7 separate regions of the Homo sapiens genome follow, and all the other regions are linked to region 5. Evidence: promoter capture Hi-C in 16 types of primary human blood cells and fetal thymus (Javierre and others, 2016). All regions are on one chromosome and are shown on one strand. The core of a region is centred on a gene start or on the middle of the fragment in contact, and the rest is flanking DNA. Distances in the headings are between cores, read along the strand shown. Region 1 overlaps MDH2 (malate dehydrogenase 2). Region 2 overlaps STYXL1 (serine/threonine/tyrosine interacting like 1). Region 3 overlaps ZP3 (zona pellucida glycoprotein 3). Region 4 overlaps POR (cytochrome p450 oxidoreductase). Region 5 holds the start of SRRM3 (serine/arginine repetitive matrix 3). Region 6 overlaps STYXL1 (serine/threonine/tyrosine interacting like 1). Region 7 overlaps YWHAG (tyrosine 3-monooxygenase/tryptophan 5-monooxygenase activation protein gamma).

Region 1 (2,500 bases), core at 1-2,500, 140 kb after region 5:
TGCTTCTTGAAAACTTCTGCTGTGATGGGGATGGTGGAATTAACCTAGGACATCCAACAGACAGGCATGGCTTGCCCTGGGTTCCGAGAGCAGGGCCAAGCCACAGCAGGAAAAGGGCTTTTTGTCAGACCTTCCCAAAGGTCTAACTAGTCCAAAGATGCCACATTAAACTGCCCTGTCTGATAACTCTGTACTGGCAAGCCACCTGCCAGAAAGGACAGGCCGCACCATGTGAACAAAGAAACCCTTTGCTGTAGAGGATGCTTCTTCCCTTGGTGGCCCTTCAGCTATCAACTGAAATGTGTGATGATGCCTCCATGGATCACCTTCTGCTCGGCCGGGACTCACAGCTGCAGGGCCACTCCTGATGGGACAGCAGTGCACAGCGGCTGTGTGCTCCAAGGAAGCAGGTCCACTGGCAGCTCAGTCCCTCTGTGCTATGACCCTGGGCAGGTCACCCTAACTCCCTGGGACCCGTTTTTTTCTTCTGTAAGTGGGGGAAACGACAACCTCATGAAGTCATAAATACTAAATGACTTCACACACGGCGAGTGCTGAACACGTCACCCGGGACGCCAGAAGATGACAGAATGGCCAGGTTTCTATTAGGCACTGGTTAGCTCCCCAACAAAGGGAATAGCAGCTCTCTATTTGTGACCCACCACCCTGAGGAGCTTCTGGGGAACGCAGGACCCTTAGAGGCCAGGAGCACGAGCTCTGCATGCCTGCTGGCATCCATGCCTCTCAGTGACATCATGGTCCCTGCCCCTTCACCCCAATTGATCCTCATCCTCAGACACCAGGACCCAGGCTCCGCCAGGAAGGAGCAGTGAGGTGGCTGCTGTTAAATGAGCACAAGGCCCTGCAGGTCAAGCTGGGGAACCATGGCCGCCCTCTCAGTGAGGACGCAGCACTCAACGTTTCCGAGAGTAAGCAGCTACCTGCAAAAACCAGTGAGTGGGGCCTGGGGTGGCTGTGTGTGTGTCCGCGACTGTGTGTGAATGAGGAAATGGGGACAACAGGGGACCAGGAATGGAAATCCTGAGTAGAATGCAGATAGTCCCACCTTATCCATGGTTTCACTTTCTGCTGTGTTAATTACCAGCAGTCAGTTGAGGTCTGAAATTATTACACGGAAGATTTCAGAAATAAAGAATTCATGGGTTTTAAACTGGCTGGGCGCAGTGGCTCATGCCTGTAATCCCAGCACTCTGGGAGAGTGAGGCGGGAGGATCACCTGAGGTTGGTTGTTTGAGACCAGCCTCACCAACATGGCGAAATCCTGTCTCTACTAAAAGTACAAAAATTAGCTGGGCATAGTGGCATGCACCTGTAATCCCAGCTACTCAGGAGGCTGAGGCAGAAGAATCGCTTGAACCTGGGAGGCAGAGGCTGCAGTAAGCCAAGGTCGCACCACTGCACACTGGCCTGGGCGACAGAGCCAAAAACAAACAAACAAAAAAACTGCATGCCATCCTGAGTAGCAGGATGAACTCTGGCTCCATCCCGCCCAGGACAGGGGTCAACCCTTTGCCCAGCATACCCATGCGTCTACACCACCTGCCTGAGTCACTTAGGAGCCATTTTGGTTATCAGATCAGCTGTTGAGGGATCATGATGCTTGTGTTCCAGTTGCCTTATTTTACTTTACAATGGCCCCAAAGCGCAAGAGTAGTGATGCTGGCAATTTGGAGAAACAGAAACCAGAGAAGCCATTAAGTACTTCCCTTAAGCGAGAAGGTGGAAGTTCCTGACTAAAGGGAAAGAAATAACTTTTATTATAGTATCTTGTTGTGATTGTTTTACTATGAGTTGTTGTTGTTAATCTCTTACTGTGCCTAGTTTATGCATTAACTTATCACAGGTGTGCATGCCTAGGAAAACACATGGTATATACAGGGTTCAGTATACACATGGTATATACAGGGTTCAGGGTTCAGGCACCTACTGGGCTCTTGGAACATACTTTTCCGGCTAAGTAGGAGCTACTGTGTCAAAAAGGGAATCAAGAGACCACCACAATCACGGCTGAAAGGAGCCTTGAGAATGGACTTCTCTTCAGGTGGGGAAACTAAAGCAGAGAGAGACGTGGTCTGCCCACAGCACAAGGCTGGCTGTGACAACCCTCATTCAGTTCATGCTGGAAGGAGTCCTTAGGAAGTGCACGGACGGGCCTCTGCTTAGTGCACCCGACCTCTCCATTTCAGCCCCTTCATCTGTGTATCCCCCCATCCCCCCAGCACATCAGCAGCCTTTGCTGCAAACCGTGAGCTTTTCACGCACTGTCAGCACCTAAACACCTGCCATAGCTGCAAGAGCCGGGTGCTGCCACACTCACCGGATTGGCAATGACGCAGATCATGGCTTCCGGGCAGTGCTGGGCACAGGCAGCGGTCAGGGTGGCCACAATCGTGGCATTGGTGTTGAACAGGTCGTCCCGGGTCATGCCTGGAAATGATCCAATATGAGATGTTAACAGAGAACACCACAAATTTCCAGA
Region 2 (2,928 bases), core at 74-2,573, 180 kb after region 5:
TTCTAGGACAATACACATCAAACAGCTGTGAGCAAGCAGGTTGGAGAGCAAGCAAGGTGACTTAGTGATGAATGCTGAATGTGCTGCAAGCTTGCTTTATTTTCATTTGTTCCCCTCCCTTCTTTGCTGATTTCACAAAGTTTATGGGGACAGTTCCATGTGTGCCATGCACCAGGAACCAAGGGCTTTACTTGGATCTGCAGAACAGCTTACAAGGACGCTAACTAACATCAAGAGCTGTGAGGAAGCCAGGCCCAGTGACTCATACCTGTAGTCCCAGCACTTGGGGAGGCTGAGGCAGGAGGATCACTTGAGCCCAGGAGTTCAAGACCAGCCTGGGTGATATGGCAAGATAAGGTACCCAGCTCATTTATTTACTTTTTGTAAAGACTGGGTCTTGCTGTGTTGCCTGAGACTTAAGCTTTTAAAAGTGTTGTGGACATATTTTTAAACCACCACACCTATAAGTGGTGGGGCCAGGATTCAAACCCAGGCCTTTTTGGCTCTGTCCTGTCCCCCAGGGATTGGGTAGTGGCACGAGAGCATGCAGCCCCAAGTCAGAACATTAAAGCGTGGTCAGTTCCAATGTGCTCCATCGAACCTCTGAGGCTCTGCTGTGTTCTTCATTAGCCCCTGGTTTTGGGCTGACCACCCTTTGCCATTGGCACTGGGAGCTCTGCTTCTAGGAATCAGAACTGCACCTGTGGGTGCCGTTCCAGAAGCTGGGGGCACTCACACCAACTGCCACGGGGTGGCGCTATGCTCCCACCTTTCATAAAACCAGCTGTCTGGACTTTTGTCCCAGGAGGTCCTTGGCCAGGAAATTGTCCCTTCTTCCCTAAGCTCATCCTGTTGGGCTCTGGTCTGCAATCCTAGGACTGTAGGCTAGGCCTTGAAACCCTAGGAGATGGTACTCAACATGGATAATCCCCTTTACATTCTATAACTGACCTTACTTTGCTATGGGGCCCCCATTCACAGGAAACCACAACCACACAACTTGTGCATTCAAGGCAACTTTTCTTGTTTCAAATGGCATCTTTCAGGTCAATGAAAAGTCTTTGGGGGTACAAGACCATCTCAAGGCTTCTCTCAACACCCCCTTCTTTCTTTTTTTTTTTTTTTTTTTGAGTCAGGGTCTCGCTTTGTTGCCCAGGCTGGTCTCGAACTCTTGGCTTCAAGCAATTCTCTTGCATTGGCCTCTCAAAGTGCATGGATTACAGGCATGAGCCACCATGCCTGGCCTGAACTCTGACTTCTGAGCCAGGCCCTGTGGGGTGAGCTTTGGCTCCTGTCTTGAGAGCTGCAGATTCTCTCTCAGCCTGGCTGCAGATTCCAGATTCTTCCTGTCAATGCCATCTCTCAGATAGGTCCCAGCCACTTATATCCTCCACAGCCCCTTCTGGAAGTGTCTTTGTCTCCCTGAACAAAAATTCAATATGGAAGCAGAGTTAGCCAGGCACGGTGCCTCACACTCGTAATCCCAGCACTTTGTGAGGCTGAGGCAGGAGGGTTGCTTGAAGCCAGGAGTTTGAGACCACCCTGGGCAACATAGCAAGGCCCCGTCTCTACCAAAAATACAAAAAAAAAAATTTAGCCAGGCATGGTGGTGCATGCCTGTAGCACCAGCTACTCAGGAGGCTGAGGCAGGAGGATCACTTGAGCCCAGGTGGTCAAGGCTGCAGTGAGCTATGACTGTACCACTGTATTCTAGCCTGGCTGACAGCGTAAGACCCTGTCTCTAAAAAAAACGTATTTAAAAAAAAAAAAAAAAGAAAAAAACAGTTAGAGTTCATGCTGTTTTCTTTCTCCTTTTATCTGGCTCTCTGAAGTCTGCCACACACTATTTCTCTTTCTGGGCCAGAACCTGGCCTCAGGATATCTTGGTTTAAGGATGTCTTGGCTTAGCCTTAATTATGCAAACTTCCTGTCACATATATCTAATTTACATGCAGTCTGATTGTGATTCTGCAGATCAATGAAGGTGTTTAAGATTAAATTGATGTCAAAACCACATTGAGATATTATTCACGCCCACTGGGATGGTAATAATCAAAGAGACAGATGATAATAAGTGTTGGTGAGAACATGGAGAAATTGGAAGCCTCATACACTGCGAACCAGAAAGTAAAATGGTGCAGTCACTGGAAAACAGTGTGGTGTTTCTTTAGAAGGTTAAGATATAGACCCCAAAGTAATGAAAACACATCCACACCAAAGCTTTTACATGAATGTTCATAGCAGTGTTATTCATAATAGCCAAAAAGCACGAACAACCTAAGTGTCTATCAGCAGCTAAACAGGTAGAACAGAATGTGGTCTGTCCACACAATGGAATATTACTCAGCCATAAAAAGGAATGGGGCTGGGCGCTGTGGCTAATAATGCCTGTAATCCCAGCACTTTGGAAGGCCAAGGCGGGAGGATCACCTGAGGTCAGGAGTTCAAGACCAGCCTGGCCAATGTGGTGAAACCCCATCTCTATTAAAAATACAAAAATTAGCTGGGCGTGGTGGCATGTGCCTGTAATCCCAGCTACTAGGGAGGCTGAGGTAGGAGAATCACTTGAACCTGGGAGGCAGAGGTTGCAGTGAGCCGAGTTTGTGCTATTGTACTCTAGCCTGGACAACAGAGTGAAACTCGGTCTCAAAAAAAAAAAAATAAAAGTACTGACATGTGCTATAATGTAGATGAACACTAAAGAGATCATGGTAAGTGATAGAAGTTAGATGCAAAACATCACATATTATTCCATTTATATGAAAAGTCCAGAATAGGCAAATCCATAGAAATGAGTGGTTAAGTGGAGCTGGGAGTTTGGGGAAAAACGGGTGTGGCTGATTAGTGGTACAGGGTCCCTTGTAGGGGTGATGAAAATGTTCTAAAATTAGGCCGGGCACTGTCGCTCACACCTGTAGTCCCAGCACT
Region 3 (2,969 bases), core at 382-2,881, 220 kb before region 5:
TCCTGGCCTCAGGTGATCCACCTGCCTCAGCCTCCCAAAGTGCTGGATTACAGGTGTGAGCCACCATGACTCAACCCCCAACCACCTATTCTAAGCTCACTATCCCCACCTCTCATCTCAGGGAGCTTATTTAAAAACTACTTGAGGGCTGGGTGCAGTGGCTCATGCCTGTAATCCCAGCACTTTGGGAGGGAAGAGGATTGCTTGAGGCCAGGAAGTCACGACCAGCCTGGGCAATAGAGCTAGACCCCATCTCTACAAAAACATAACTTGGCTGGGCACGGTGGCATGTGCCTGTAGTCCATCCCAGCTATTCAGGAGGCTGAGGCAGGAGGATGGCTTGAGCCTAGGAGGTCGAAGTTGCCCAAGAGCTCAGGTGGCTGCCTGGCCCTGACCAAACTCGATCTTCAGGGAATAGTCCTAGACCTTATTAGCAAGTGCCCCAGCACAGACAGAACCAGCATAGCTCGTGGGGCCCCTTATTCAAAAGTTATTACCATTTCAGGGCAAGAGGGCATTCCATTAAGCACTGGGCCCCACAGAACTGCACAGGTTGTATACCTGGGAAACTGGCCATGGCTGTATTTTTTTTTTTTTTTTTTTTGAGACGGAGTCTCACTCTGTTGCCCAGGCTGGAGTGCAGTGGCACGATCTCAACTCACTGCAACCTACGCCTCCCGGGTTCAAGCAATTCTCTGCCTCAGACTCCTGAGTAGCTGGGATTACAGGTGCCCGCCACCACACCCGGCTAACTTCTTTGTATTTTTAGTAGAGATGAGGTTTCACCATCGTGGCCAGGCTGGTCTTGAACTCCTGACCTCGTGATTCACCCGCCTCGGCCTCCCAAAGTGCTGGGATTACAGGCGTGAGCCACTGCGCACGGCCAGCCGCAGGTGATTCTCACCGGGCAAAACTGGGAAACACCACACCAGAGGAAGGAGTTTGCAGGCTTTGCTCCTCATTGGAGTCACCTGAGATCCTTATTACCCACAGCTGGTCCCACATCCTTTCTATTTTAGCAGCCTGGACATCAGGATTTTTAGAAGCTCCACAGGTGGGGTTAATAAAAGAGGGTCTTGCTCTGCCTTCCAGGCTGGAATGCAGTGGCACAATCGTAGCTCACTGCAGCCTCCAAATCATGGGTTTAAGCAATCCTCCCACTTCAGCCTCCCAAGTAGCTGAGACTAAAGGCAGGCGCCACCACACCCTATTGTGTGTGTGTGTGTGTGTGTGTGTGTGTGTGTGGTGTTTGGTAGAGAAGGGGGTCTCATTATGTTGCCCAGGGTGGCCTTAAACTCCCGGGCCCAAGTGATCCTCCCATCTCAGCCTCCCAAAGTGCTGGGATTATAGGCGCCATTGCACTCCAGCCTGGGCAATAAGAGCAAAACTGTCTCAAAAAACAAAAACAACAACAAAAAAATACCACTTATCAGCTTCTAACCTATTAAAGCCCATTTCACAGAAGGGGGGGGAGCCAGGCACCTGGCTCCCCAAGTAAATCTAAGACATGTTTGTGAGCCTCTAAACTGGAATAATTCCTCAAGTAACTCCTGCAGCTCTCTGGCCTCCCTCCCCAGGAAAACAAGGGCCTCGAGTCCTCAAAGAGAGCCCAGGAGACCACAGTTAAGACCAGAGCTCTGGCCGGAGGGCTCCAGGGGCTGGACTTGCCCCCATCCCAGGCAAGCTACTGGGTCTAGGCCCAGGTGAGGAGGAGCCAGGTTCCCCTGAGGCGGGAGAGGACAGGCCCTCCATGGGACCACAGGAACTTGGTCCAGGGATCAGGGTTTAGCTGGGGAGCTGTGTGCCCAGCCCTGCCCTGCCGTAAGGCCTCTCCTTGCAGCCTCTTTCCCCACTGGCTAGGGAAAGGGAGGTCTGGCCTGGATTTCTTGGTCTTTTCCTGCATGTACCACAGGTTAAGCCTCTCCCCCTTGGAGCTGCCCCCAGGGACCCACTGATGCTTTTAAGGTCTTTAACACCAAGGTTATGATGCCCCCGCCCCCATACCACTTATCTATGTGGAATTTTTTTTTTTTTTTTGAGCCAGAGTCTCGCTCTGTTGCCTAGGCTGGAGTGCAGTGGCACAATCTCAGCTCACTGCAACCTTTGCCTCCTGGGTTCAAGCGATTCTCCTGCCTCAGCCTCCTGAGTAGCTGGGATTACAGACACGCACCACCATGCCTGGCTAATTTTTGTATTATTAGTAGAGATGGGGTTTCACCATGTTGGCCAGGCTGGTCTCAAACTCCTCAGCCTCCCAAAGTGCTGGAATTACAGGCGTGAGCCACCACACCAGGCCCCAGTTAGTTTTTTTAAAGGCTTAAGAGATGGGGTCTCACTATGTTGCCCAGGCTGGCCTCAAACTCCTGGCCTCAAGTGATCCTCCAGTCTTGGCCTCCCATAGTGCTGGGACTACAGGCATGAGCCACTGCACCCGGCCCACTTGTTGTTTTTAAGATAATGTATACTTTGGGTCTCTTCAGGATGAGTTCCTAATGCCCCCAGCCTTAGAAACAGCCCCTTAGGCTACCCACAGGGCTATCCTATCACGCAGGCCTGTGTGTGTCACAAACCCACCTGAGAGAGAGTGGCGTGGCTTGGGCCAGCCTGAAGTGCACGGCCACCTCTGGCTCCACCCCATCGACCCAATGTCGGGCATCAGAGGCAGGAGCTGCCCTGGGTCCGGTGACCTCAGTGCCAGCTTCAGGCCTCAACTGGGCCACCTCCCCACCTACAAGTGAGAGGGATCCACCCAACCCCACCTCCCACCGATGGTGGCCACAGTCCCCATACCCGGCTGCCTCGAACATCCTCCCACCAAAGCCAGGGCCCCCAGCCTCTCTTACCTGCATGCTGTTGCCACACTCGTGGAGTCCAACCTCAAACCTGACCACATCTTCTGTGTCCATGGAGACCAGAGGCTCACAGGCCTCTGGGCCCAAGGTGAGGTCAGCAGCCCTGATGAGCTTCCC
Region 4 (3,294 bases), core at 1-2,500, 250 kb after region 5:
CCGCCCCATCCGGGAGGGAGGTGGGGGGGTCAGCCCCCCGCCCGGCCAGCCGCCCCGTCCGGGAGGGAGGTGGGGGGGTCAGCCCCCCGCCCGGCCAGCCGCCCCGTCCGGGAGGGAGGTGGGGGGGTCAGCCCCCCGCCCGGCCAGCTGCCCCGTCCGGGAGGGAGGTGGGGGGGTCAGCCCCCCGCCCGGCCAGCTGCCCCGTCCGGGAGGGAGGTGGGGGGGTCAGCCCCCCGCCCGGCCAGCCACCCCATCCGGGAGGTGAGGGGCACCTCTGCCCGGCCGCCCCTACTGGGCAGTGAGGAGCCCCTCTGCCCCGCCAGCCGCCCCGTCCGGGAGGGAGGTGGGGGGGTCAGCCCCCCGCCCGGCCAGCCGCCCCGTCCGGGAGGGAGGTGGGGGAACCCCCATGTCACCAGCCTAGTTCCCTCATAAGATGCTCAACTGGTCCTTCCACCAACGACACCTGGTAGGCAGACGTGACATGAGTCAACAAAGGTCCAAGTGAGAGTCCCTGAAACAGCAGCTTCTGCTGCTTACCAAGGAGGCTGGGCTCAGCCCTGAAATTCACACTATTCCATTTTGCAATCATGGATATGACCGACTGGGTTTTTCACCACAACCAGAGCACCCAGACTCAATCAGGAAAGCCTTAGTCATGTGTCAGCAATTAGGCAATGAGAGACTATGTTCTAGCTGACTGCTGATGGCTGTCACTGTCACCAGGAAACCATGGGGCTGGTCTGGGAAGCCAGGGCATCCGAGGGTTGTGGGCATCGGTCTACTGCTACACAACCTGCTGGGAACAGGCCATTCAGAACAGGCCCGCAAGCTTGGGTCTTTGCTTTCTCACTAATCTGAGCTGCTTTTCCAATGGCTTGAGTTCATCTCAATTTAGCTTTTTTCTTTCTTTTTTATTTTATTTTTTTGAGATAGAGTCTCTCTCTGTCACCCTGGCTAGAGTGCAATGGCACCATCTCGACTCACTGCAACCTCCGCCTCCTGGGTTCAAGCGATTCTCTTGCCTCAGCCTCCAGGGTACCTGGGACTACGGGTGCCCGCCACGACACCTGGCTAATTTTGTATTTTTAGTAGAGACGGGGTTTCACCATGTCAGCCAGGCTGGTCTCGAACTCCTGACCTCAGGTGATCTGCCTGCTTCGGCTTCCCAAAGTGCTGGGATTACAGGCGTGAGCCACTGTGCCTGGCCTCAACTTGGCTTTTTTGATATGACTTTTTTTTTTTCGGGGGGGGGGGGGGCCGGGGGACAGAGCCTCGCTCTGTCACCCAGGCTGGAGTGCAGTGGTGCGATCTCGGCTCACTGCAACCTCTGCCTCCCGGATTCAAGCAATTCTCCTGCCTCAGTCTCCTGAGCAGCTGGGATTACAGGCATGTGCCACCACACCCGGCTAATTTTCTGTATTTTTAGTAGAGATGGAGTTTCACCATGTTGGTCAGGCTGGTCTCAAACTCCTGACCTCGTGATCCTGCCTCGGCCTCCCAAAGTGCTGGGATGACAGGCGTGAGCCACTGCACCTGGCCAGCTTTTTTGATATGACATTAAAGGACAAAGTGAATTCTGTTGTCCCCAGAGAAAACTATTTATATTTAATCTTATAAACACATTTAATATTTACTTAATGCTAGTCATATCAGGATCTCTGTCAAGCTTATGAGCCACCTGTCACATTTTCATAGAACCAGACAGAGAGGCATTTAGGATCTGCTCTGACAGATTCTGGAAGGACTTGTCCCACAGAGTCATGAGGCAGCAGACAGTCAGGGCCCCACTGGAACCAGTCAGGAGTGCCATGGTGACACAGGAGCTCCCCTAGCTGTCTAGCTGTTATCCATCACAAGGCAGCAGCCAAGAAACTCGCGCTCCCTGTCCCTCACCCTCCTCCCTTCTAACTCCCCAAGTGACCGGTCCCCTCATTTTCCAGAAGAGATCTAATGCCCATGATGTGAAGTCCTTCTCAACGCAGACTCAAGCTGATTGCATAACTCATGGCAGTTTCTATTAATAAATCGACGACGCTGGGAGTGAGGTTAGCGGTACATCTGCACCTACGTAATCACCGCAAGAGAATTCTGATGGACGGGCCATTCCCCACACAGCAGACAGGGGGATGCTTTAAAAAGTAAGTCAGATCGTCCGGGCACGGTGGCCCATGCCTGTAATCCCAGCACTTTGGGAGGCCAAGGCGGGTGGATCACGAGGTCAGGAGATCGAGACCATCCTGGCTAACACAGTGAAACCCCGTCTCTACTTAAAAAAAAAAAATACAAGAAATTAGCCAGGCGTGGTGGCAGGCACCTGTAGTCCCAGAAACAGGAGGAGGGAGGTGAGGTGGGAGAATGGTGTGAACCCGGAAGGCAGAGCTTGCAGTGAGCTGACATTGTGCCACTGCACTCCAGCCTGGGCGACAGAGCGAGATTCCATCTCAAAAAAAAAAAAAAGTAAGTCAGGTCATGTCCCCTCCCTGATCAAAACCCTGAGATGGGCTGGGCACGGTGGCTCACACCTGTAATCCCAGCACTTTGGGAGGCCGAGGCAGGTGGATCACCTGAGGTCAGGCGTTTGAGACCAGCCTGGCCAACATGGTGAAACCCTGTCTCTACTAAAAATACAAAAATCAGCCGGATGCAGTGGCGCATGCCTGTAATCCCAGCTACTCAGGAGGCTGAGGCTGGAGAATCATTTGAACCCAGGAAGCGGAGGTTGCAGTGAGCTGAGATCACACCACTGCACTCCAGACTCCAGCCTGGAGTGCTGGAGAACAGAGTGAGACTCCATCTCAAACAACAACAACAACAACAACAAACCCTGAGATGTCTTCACATCATACTTCGTACAAAAACCTAAAGTGGCCAGGCACAGTGGCTCACGCCTGTAATCCCATCACTTTGGGAGGCCGAGGCGGGTGGATCACGAGGTCAGGAGTTCAAGACCAGCCTGGCCAACACAGCGAAACTCCATCTCTACTAAAAATACAGAAATTAGCCAGGCATGGTGACGCGTGCCTGTAGTCCCAGCTACTTGGGGAGGCTGAGGCAGGAGAATCGCTTGAACCTGGGAGGCAGAGGTTGTAGTGAGCTGAGATCACGCCACTGCACTCCAGCCTGGGTGACAGAGTGAGACTCCGTCTCAAAAACAACAACAACAACAACAACAACAACAACAAAGCCCTGAAGTCCTTACACAGCTCATAAGGCCCATACGATCCGGCCCTCAGAACCCACTCCCACCACCCACATTTCTTACTACGCTCCCCTTCCTCACACCTTGCAGGTCAC
Region 5 (3,305 bases), core at 806-3,305:
AAGTATCCCAGTGACCTTGTGGGAGTCACCTCCTTACTGCACTGTATGCCCTCACCCACCTGCCTCAGGCTCCCCACCTGTAAAGCTGGCATCATAAATCAAGACACTGGCATTGAACTGGGCCTTGATACTCAGAGGATGGGACAGGTCATCAGTAACTCTCCTGCCTCCAGGAGGACAGCGCGAGTGGCTTCATGACCTTGGGAAAGTCACTCAAGCTTCATTTCTCAGCTATGAAATAGGGACAATGATGCCTTCCTCATGAAGCTTCTGTGAGGATTAGCTGAGTCAACCGTTGCATTGTGCCCAGCATGGAGCTGGGCATGAGGCTCTCAACCACTGTTCATCTCCTCTGGGAACAGAAAAATGTGCTTCAAATATCACTGAACACTATTCCACATTTATCCAGCTCTTCTTTAAGAAATTCTTACTTGTCTCCTATTTACTAACACTCACCCAGCATTTTATACCGTAAAAGTAGTCTCCCATCTCCTTATCCAGATTATTTCTTTCAACAGCAAAGTAGACATTGCTAACACTACACCTGTTTTACAGATTGAAAACAGACTCAGAAAGGTCAATGGCTTACCTGAGGTCACATAACCTAGATTTGATCCCATGTCTTTCTGACATCAGAGTCCATGACTCCCAACCCACATACCCCTACCTCTTAAAACCCAGTTGACTCTTTAGTCAGTCTTCAAGAATACCTCCTCCACCCCACAGGAGAGTGGGATGGGGCATAAAGTTAAGGAACCAGAAAGCTACTGCTGTGTGGGAACAATTTCCTAGCCAGCTGGGTCCTATTTTTGACTGAGGAAGAAGCTGGCACAAACTGGGGCCATGACCTTAAGATGCTCCCTGGACAGAGGAACTTGTGCACGTCTCTCCGTCAAAGCCCAGCACCTGCCTTTTCTCTTGCCATGGGACAAAAGACCAGCTCAAGCCCCCGATGCTAGGGTGAGTGAGGTCTTAGGACAGCGAGAAGTTATGGCTGGGATAGGGCACAGGCATTGAAGTACCACGTCAGACCTTGGTACAACCTTCCCTTCCTCCCACTAAATCTCTCCCCACAATGGATCTGCTGTCAGGAGTAGGAACTGCAGGAGGCTTCAACACTGTCCAGGCAGGAGCCCTGGGAGGGAGGGGGAGGCGGAGGCAAGGCAGAGGCTGCGTCTTTTCTCAGCTCTCTTCTTTACCAGGAATTCACTCTGGCGCAGGTCTAACTCTGGGCTAGAAACTCTCTCTGGGCGTCCGTGGTTGGGGTGGGGGGTGTGCACAGAGAACCCCCTCCCAAATTCCTAGTAGCTATTTTCTCTTCTGTGTCCTCCATCCTCTTCCCAGTGCAAGAGTAAATGCCATCCTGTGAGACCCAGTTCTCCTTGCCAGCTCCTGCCTCCCTAGGGGCATTTGGGTAGCCGGGAAAGGGGCCAGGCTGTCCCCTGGGCCGGCACCTCCTGCTGGACAGAGGCCCAGCATCCAGGTGGGGGCCTGCTCCCTTCACCAGGGCCAGTGACCAGCATCTCCACAGGGTTACTGCATCGGTCCTCCCTTCCCTGGGGAGCAGGTCCTTCTCCTCAGTGGGACTGCGGTTGGGGGGCCTCCCTGGCACCCTCATGGACTAGGCCATGGTCATTTATGCCCAGGGGAGTCCTGCCCATGACCCCAAAGGTCTCCACTGTCTCCATCCCTCTCAGTGAAATGAATGTTCCTCATCTCTGCTCCCCGGGCGCCTGGCACCCCCGGACAGACGCCCTCGCCGACCTCCCACACTGCCCCTCTGCTCGGGGGAGCCTGCAGACCACGGGGGTGCTGGGGAGGCCCGAGCTTCCACCCAGCCCCAGCCCCTCGGGGATATGCCCCCGCCCCACAGGCGCTCTCACCTCACCGCTGACCGCCGCGATCTACCGGGCGCTGGGGCCAGGCCCTCGGGTCCCGCCGGTCCGGGCTGCCGCCTAGTCTGGGCTGAGTTGGGCAGGGCAGCTCCGCGGCCCCCACGGCCCCGCACCCTCTGCCTCCCCGCGGGTGCTGCCGCCGCTTGCTGAAATGCTGGACAGCGCACCGCCACCGAGGCGCCTCTCTGCTCGCCCGCCAGCCAGAGCGGCCCAGCCCCGCGCCCGCAGCGCCCTCCGCAGGCCTGGAGGAACGCCCGCAGCGGAGGCAACAGCCCGGGCGGCTGGGCCGGGCCGTCTCCCGGCCGGCTCCCCCTCCTCCCCGCCCCCTTCGCCCCCCTCCCCCCCTTCCCCTCGCCCCTCACCTCCCCACACCCCCGCCCCTATCCCCAGCCCCCGGGGACATCTGTTTCCCCCACTTGCGAGAGGAGGCATGTCAGCCCTGGAAGGCGCCTGGGGCAAGGGAGGTTATTAGTTTGGATCTGGGAAATGCAGTCGGTGTGCAGAGGCCTCGCCAGGACACTCTCTTCCCACCCAGTGTTAAAGAAGGCACCAGGGGCTGGGCGCGGTGGCTCACGCCTATAATCCCAGCACTTTGGGAGACTGAGGCGGGAGGATCACTTGAGGCCAGGAATTCGAGACCAGCCTGGCCAACATGGTGAAACCCAGTCTCTACTAAAAATACAAAAATTAGCCAGGCGTGGTCGCAGGCACCTGTAATCCCAACTACTCAGCTACTTGGGAGGCTGAGGCAGGAGAATCGCTTGAATCTGGGAGGCGGAGTTGCAGTGAGCCAAGATCGCACCATTGCACTCCAGACTGGGCGACAAGAGCAAGACTTAGGGTCAAAAATAAAATAAAATAAAATAAAATAAAAGGCACCAGGGAGGTGAGGTGGGAGGATCGCTGGAGCCCAGGAATTTGAGGCTGCAGTGACCTATGGTGGCGCCACTGCACTCCAGCCTGAATGACAGAGGCTGTCATTTTTTGACACCATCTCAAAAATTTAAAAAAAAAAAAAGGAGGGTGTAGTGTGAGAGACATCCTAATGGAGACAGGAGATTTTAAATTATTTTTTTAAATTTTAAAATTTTGGCTGGATGCAGTGGCTCACATCTGTAATCCTAACATTTTAGGAGGCTGAGGTGGGAAATCACTGAGCTCAGGAGTTTGAGACCAGCCAGGCCAACATGAGGAAACCCTGTCTCTATGAAAAATACAAAAATTTGCCAGATGTGGTGGCATGCATGCACCTGTGGTCCCAGCTACTTGGGAGGCTGAAGTGGGAGGAAGGCTTGAGCCTGAGAAGCGAAGGTTGCAGTGAACCAAGATTGCTCCATTGCACTCCATCCTAGGTGACAGAGCCTCAATTTGTCTCAAAAACAAAAACAAAACAAAAAAACAAAAACAACA
Region 6 (2,954 bases), core at 182-2,681, 160 kb after region 5:
GCCTAGTTGCCGTATGAGCAGACCTGTTACCCTTACAGGACCACTAGGGCACCTCTCAGGGGTCTAGCAGGCTTAGGTTTGGGGACATGGAATTGATAGCAAGATCTAAGGCAAGGAGCAGGGATGTGGACGGCTGGATCTAGGCCTCTGATCCATACCTGCTCTCCCTAAAATATAGAGGTACTAGCGATGGAGGCCAGGCGCCGTGGCTAATGCCTGTTATCCCAGCACTTTGGGAAGTTGAGGCAGGTGGATCACCTGAGGTCGGGAGTTTGAGACTAAGCTGGCCAACGTGGTGAAACCCCGTCTCTATAAAAATACAAAAATTAGCCTGTCATGGTGGTGCATGCCTGTAGTCCTTGCTACTGGGGAGGCTGGGGCAGGAGAATTGCTTGAACTTGGGAGGCGAAGGTTGCAGTGAGGTGAGATCACGCCACTGCACCCCAGCCTCAGCAACAGAGACACTGTCACAAAAAGAAAAAAAGGTGATAGTAGATACTAGTGATGATCAAGGCAAAGTTAGGAGGTTATGATGGCCCTGGTCTCCTCCTCCTCTTCCCTCTTTCTTTCTTCTGTGCCAGTGGGACCTGGTGTCCCTCTGAGTTAAGAGACAGATTTCAGGCCCACTTCTGCAGCCTCCACAGCTCTGGGGGTGTTGTGACCTGGGACTGTATTACCCAGCTTTGTCAAGGTTCAGGCCACAGAGAATGTGTCAAGCTGGGATTGAGGAAAGACTGTACCAAATCCCTTAAGATCCTGACCCTTGGCTGGGCGCAGTGGCTCACGCCTGTAATCCCACCACTTTGGGAGGCTGAGGCGGGAAGATCACTTGAGCCCAGGAGTTCGAAACCAGCCTGGAAAACATAGTGGAACCCTGACTCTACAGAAACTAAAAAAAATTAGTTGGCCGGGTGCGGTGACTCACGCCTGTAATCCCAGCACTTCGGGATGCCAAGGCGGGTGGATCACGAGGTCAGGAGTTCGAGACCAGCCTGGCCAACATGGTGAAACCCCGTTTCTACTAAAAATACAAAAGTTAGCTGGGAATGGTGGCACATGCCTGTAGTCCCAGCTACTTGGTAGGAGAATCGCTTGAACCTGGGAGGCGGAGGTTGTGGTGAGCCGAGATTGCACCACTGCAGTACAGCCTAGGCAACAGGGCAAGATTCCGTCTCAAAAAAAAAAAAAAAATTAGGCATGATGGTGCACACTTGTAGTCCCAGCTACTCGGAAGGCTGAGGTGGGAGGCTCACTTGAGCCCAGGAGTTTGAGGCTGCAGTGAGTGACGATCGCGCCACTGCACTCCAGCCTGGGCAACAGAGTGAGACGCTGTCTCTAAGAGAAAACAGCAAAACAAAATGTAACCCAAATATGACAAGAGTTAGTTAGCTCGCCTTGAGGCCATTCTCAAGAATGTCATTCAACGGTGGCTCACGCCTGTAATCCCAGCACTTTGGGAGGCCGAGGCAGGTGGATCATGAGGTCAGGAGATCGAGACCATCCTGGCTAACACGGTGAAACCCCGTCTCTACTAAAAAAAAATACAAAAAAGCCAGGCGTGGTGGCAGACGCCTGTAGTCCCAGCTACTCAGGAGGCTGAGGCAGGAGAATGGCGGGAACCCAGGAGGCAGAGCTCGCAGTGAGCTGAGATCGTGCCACTGCACTCCAGCCTGGGGTGACAGAGCAAGATTCCGTCTCAGGAAAAAAAAAAAAAAAAATGTCATTCAATTCCCAAACATAAAGCAGGTCCTGACAGCCTCGAAGTCACATAACGAGTAGGGAGGTTTTTCTGGGACGACAGAGGAGAGGCTCATGTCATCCCACAGAACCAAACACCCCCACATTCCTTCAGACCTCTCTGTTCTTCCCCATTGTTCTCTTCCGGAAGCGAGACCCTGTCTCTACAAAAAAATAAAAACTTAGCTAGGTGTGGTGGCATGCACCTGTAGCCTCAGCTACTCAGGAGGCTGAGGTGGGAGGATCGCTTGAGGCTGCAGTGAGCCATGATTGTGCCACTGCACGCCAGCCTGGGCAACAGAGTGAGCCCCTGTTTCAGGAAAAGAAACTGAGAGGGTAGGAGTAAAGGAATTTCCTAAGCTACTGCCATGTGTCAGGCCCACTGCTAGGCAATTTATATCATTTAGCTCTTGAATGATCCTATAGCTTTGCCAGTGTGTATTATCTCAGCTTACAGGTGAGGGCATTGATGCCTGTCACTATGTTTAAGCCTTGGTCATGCTGGCACAGCCTGAGCTTCCCACCGCGAACCAGAACAGCGGTGGGGATTGGCTGTGGACCCTGACCCTTACCTGGGCTGGTCAGCTTGAGCCAGAGTCTCAAAGTGAAGCTCATGGTCTGGCTTCTCCAGGATCATCAAGTGTTGTCTCTTCACCAGAAGCAAATGCCCATCAATTGTGTCCACCTGGACTGTCTTGGGGGTTAGGGTGGCTTGGCAGTTGAGCGCTGGGTCAAGCCTGCAGTATCCTCGAACTCCTACAAGAAGCCTGTGGTCAGGCCCAGCCTCTGACACCTCCACCGTCAGTCAGGATGGAAGTCCCCTGGGTGTTGAGCAGACACAGGGAGGCAGGGAGATGAGCTGGATCTGGCTGGGTCCCTGCTTAGTCACAGGCTCTGGCAACCTCTAATGAAACATCCCTTCCCAGTTGGCTGTTTTCCCCAAATATAGACACGTGCTGTCACTAGAGGGGAGCTTCCCAGCCCAACAGCTTCTGGACCATGCTGGGCTGACTTGGGGAGAGAGCCACCCACGAACCCCTGGTTTGAAGGCCAGACTAGGTGGTCATATGGAAGGTGACAGACCTTCCCCCTGGTGGGTGTACTGTGTGCAGGGACAAAGCCTGTGCTAGCACCCTGCTGTCTTGACAGTAAGTGTCTTTGGGCTGGGCATGGTGGCTTATGCCTGTAATCCCAGCACTTTGGGAGGCCGAGGCGGA
Region 7 (2,979 bases), core at 420-2,919, 140 kb before region 5:
TAGTAGAGACGGGGTTTCACCGTGTTGGCCAGCCTGGTCTCGAACTCCTGAGCTCAGGCAATTCACCCGCCTTGGCCTTCCAGAGTGCTGGGATTACAGGTGTGAGCCGCCGCACTTGGCAGAAAATATTATTAAGAAAAGCATAAGAGAAACTGTATTTACTCTTCATTAAGTGGAAGTGGGTCATTGTAAAAGTCTTCATCCTTACGGTCTTCGTGTTGAATAGGCTGAGCAGGAGGATAAAGAGGATTGGGCTTGCTGTCTCAGGAGTGGCAGAGGTGGAGGAAAATTCACATTTAAGTGGATTTGTGCAGTTCAAACCTGTGTTGTCCAAGGGTCAACAGTATAGAATGTATTCTGTATGTTATTACTAACCGTATAAAGGTATCCTTTGTTCTTCATTGTATCTTTATCATTTTTATACATTATTATTACTATTATTTTTATATGTATTTTTTGAGATGTAATCTTGCTCTGTTGCCCAGGCTAGAGGGCAGTGGTGTGATCTTGGCTCACTGCAACCTCTGCCTCCCGGGTTCAAGCAGTTCTCCTGTCTCCGCCTCCCGAGTAGCTGGGATTACAGGTGTGCGTCACCATGCCCAGCTAATTTTTGTATTTTTAGTAGAGATGGGGTTTCACCATATTGGCCAGTCTAGTCTTGAACTCCTGACCTCAGGTGATCCGCCCACCTTGGCCTCCCAAAGTGCTGGGATTACAGGCGTGAGCCACCGCGCCCAGCCTATTACCATTATTTTTATACAACTAAGTTAAAACACACAGAAAGCAAAGAAGTGTGGTTTGAGTTTGTTGTATACATCCATAAACTGTTTATATAAAATTACTGGCTTTGGGCTTTTCTGAAAACTTGGCTTTCAAGATTGGCTTTAAGCTTCAATTGTAGGTATGAATAACAGGGTAAATTGTGGAGAGGGTTTGTTGGAATAAGTACTACTAGTCATCGGTACAAAATTCAACCTAATCAACCTTGACTGCTTCCCAGCCAGTCTGGTTTTGAGACCCTTCTAGAAATGTCGTGTGAATGCACAGGTGATTTTTAGTGCCAACTAGAATTCTGTCATATGCACATGACCAGTGGATACGTGCCTGTTACCCACACCGTCACCTTCACAATGAAGCCTTGGCATTGTGATCAGAGAACAATTCACAGAATGAATGAGGTTGAGCATTTTTCCTATTGTTTTCCTTTTCTCCGTTCCTTTTTTCCATTTTTCTGTTACTGAGATTTTCTGTTTCTAAGATTGATCTTAGAAATTCTCTGGAGGTTTTCATGTATTAGAGAAATTAGCTGGTTCTCTGTGGTGTTGCAGAAGTTACATCATCAGAGACTCTTAGCATAGAAAAAGAGCACAAGATTTGCAGCCTGAGGGCTGGAGTTTTTTCTGCTCTGTGGAGTGTTAATGAGGTGACTCTGGGGAAAAGTCATGTTATTTCTCTGAGTCACACCTGTAAAGCGAGTGTAATACCCACCTTGTGGAGTGGGACTTGGCGCTGTCAGCCAAACCCAGGCCCTCACCCAGCTCTCCTCTCATCTGTGAGACCTTGGCTTGGCCTTGGGTAGAAATTTCACGACTCTGAGGCTGTTCCTCTTCCTCGAATGAATGTTTCCCTCTGCACAATTTTTAGCCAGGGTGATCGCTGCTGGAAAAACCCAACTAAAGTTGTTAGTTCCTAATTAAAATTTTCTCCAAGTTTCCATGCAGTTTGCTATGTTAAGAATACCTCTGTGACTGATACTCCAATGTGAATAAGTTGTATTTTCTCCGTGTAGACTGAGTACCTTGAGTACATCCCACTAGTGTTTTGTGTCTTCACGTTGTGATACAATGTGATGTATATACTAGATGGTCCATGGATGCTTGATGAATTAATTATTTGATAAGTAGTGGCCATTAATCATCTTTTCCCTGGTCACCGGACTTATAAAACATGTATCAAGTTTTCTGGAATGAATGTGTGTTGAGAGTCCCCAAGACTGCCTCCAGGCTTGGTGATGTACTGGGACTCAGCAAATACTTGTACTCATGGCTGCAGTTTTTTACTGGGAAGTATGCAAAGCTCAATCAGCAAATGGGGTCGGGCACAGTGGCTCATGCCGGTAATCCCAGCACTTTGGGAGGCTGAGGCGGGCGGATCACTTGAGCTCAGGAGTTCAAGACCAGCCTGGCCAAACATGGTGAAACCCCGTCTCTACTAAAAATAGAAAGTTTAGCTGGGTGTGGTGGTGGGCGCCTGTAGACCCAGCTACTCGGGAGGCTGAGGCAGGAGAATCACTTGAACCTAGGAGGCAGAGGCCACAGTGAGCCGAGATCACACCACTGCACTCCAGCCTGGGTGGCAGAGGGAGACTACATCTCAAAAAAAAAAAAAAAAATTAGCAAAGGGAAGAGGCGCAGGAGATGAAAATCAGAGGAAGCCAGGCGCAAGCTTTCAAGAGTCCTCTCCCAGGGAAATCACACGGGATACGCATCATTATTCCAAGCTGTGACAATATGTGAGAAATGCTGTCTACCAGGGGTCTTGTTAGAGAGCAGCTGGGGGCTGGTCACTTAAGTACCCTCTGCCTGCCTAGCACATGTCCAAATCCAGATTCCCAGAAGGAAAACAGGTTTAATATAAACCAGATCGTTTGTACCAACAGATTGGCAACAGTGAGCCATCTTTATCAGGGAATGGTGGGAACCCTCCCTAAATCCAAGTTCTCAGATGCCAGCCAGAGACCAGCCTTGTAAGCAGGCCTTTCGAAAGACAGCAGACTGAAGCCTATTATGTTAACTCTTCTGCACAGAAGGGAGTTCATGTTTGAGGCGTGTTATTTCAGATACATAAGGTTATTTTCAGTGTTTAGTTGATTACTTAGTAAACATAGGTTGTCTTTCGAACGAGTTGTGATGAAGGAGAACCGTGTCCCATCCGTTTGCAGTGGTTTATCCACTGTCTGCATGGTGTATCCTTAACATG

Evidence for each region. Contacts are between HindIII fragments. The CHiCAGO score rates a contact against its expected background, and 5 or more counts as called.
Region 1: a fragment that was not itself captured here is called in contact with the fragment with the promoter of SRRM3 in region 5 in 2 of 17 cell types (M1 macrophages and M0 macrophages); the score reaches 6.3 in M1 macrophages.
Region 2: a fragment that was not itself captured here is called in contact with the fragment with the promoter of SRRM3 in region 5 in 1 of 17 cell types (megakaryocytes); the score reaches 5.8 in megakaryocytes.
Region 3: a fragment that was not itself captured here is called in contact with the fragment with the promoter of SRRM3 in region 5 in 1 of 17 cell types (total B cells); the score reaches 5.7 in total B cells.
Region 4: a contact is called between a fragment that was not itself captured here and the fragment with the promoter of SRRM3 in region 5, in 1 of 17 cell types (endothelial precursors). The highest score is 5.1, in endothelial precursors.
Region 6: a contact is called between a fragment that was not itself captured here and the fragment with the promoter of SRRM3 in region 5, in 2 of 17 cell types (megakaryocytes and M1 macrophages). The highest score is 6.0, in megakaryocytes.
Region 7: a contact is called between a fragment that was not itself captured here and the fragment with the promoter of SRRM3 in region 5, in 3 of 17 cell types (naive CD8 T cells, endothelial precursors and naive CD4 T cells). The highest score is 5.9, in naive CD8 T cells.

Annotation. Positions count from the first base shown.
Region 1 is chr7:76,057,917-76,060,416 of GRCh38, reverse strand. MDH2 (malate dehydrogenase 2) reads right to left here. Exons shown (of 9, transcript NM_005918.4): 4 at 2,339-2,448; 5 at 1-44. Among named protein-coding and RNA genes, the nearest start is that of MDH2, 11 kb to the right of the region's middle. The HindIII fragment of the contact is 5,688 bases long and covers 1-2,500 here.
Region 2 is chr7:76,018,129-76,021,056 of GRCh38, reverse strand. All of the region lies in intron 4 of STYXL1 (serine/threonine/tyrosine interacting like 1), which reads left to right. Among named protein-coding and RNA genes, the nearest start is that of TMEM120A, 25 kb to the right of the region's middle. RefSeq lists an enhancer at 1,361-1,862. The HindIII fragment of the contact is 1,799 bases long and covers 424-2,222 here.
Region 3 is chr7:76,425,151-76,428,119 of GRCh38, reverse strand. ZP3 (zona pellucida glycoprotein 3) reads right to left here. Exons shown (of 8, transcript NM_001110354.2): 1 at 2,844-2,969. Among named protein-coding and RNA genes, the nearest start is that of ZP3, 1.7 kb to the right of the region's middle. The HindIII fragment of the contact is 6,728 bases long and covers 1-2,969 here.
Region 4 is chr7:75,949,026-75,952,319 of GRCh38, reverse strand. The region is part of intron 1 of POR (cytochrome p450 oxidoreductase); the gene reads right to left. Among named protein-coding and RNA genes, the nearest start is that of SNORA14A, 6.9 kb to the right of the region's middle. The HindIII fragment of the contact is 837 bases long and covers 832-1,668 here.
Region 5 is chr7:76,200,646-76,203,950 of GRCh38, reverse strand. SRRM3 (serine/arginine repetitive matrix 3) reads right to left here and starts at 2,055. Exons shown (of 15, transcript NM_001110199.3): 1 at 1,884-2,055. RefSeq lists a silencer at 1,969-2,208. The HindIII fragment of the contact is 9,812 bases long and covers 270-3,305 here.
Region 6 is chr7:76,037,187-76,040,140 of GRCh38, reverse strand. All of the region lies in intron 1 of STYXL1 (serine/threonine/tyrosine interacting like 1), which reads left to right. Among named protein-coding and RNA genes, the nearest start is that of STYXL1, 9.3 kb to the left of the region's middle. The HindIII fragment of the contact is 8,407 bases long and covers 1-2,954 here.
Region 7 is chr7:76,336,949-76,339,927 of GRCh38, reverse strand. The region is part of intron 1 of YWHAG (tyrosine 3-monooxygenase/tryptophan 5-monooxygenase activation protein gamma); the gene reads left to right. Among named protein-coding and RNA genes, the nearest start is that of FPASL, 20 kb to the right of the region's middle. The HindIII fragment of the contact is 1,556 bases long and covers 892-2,447 here.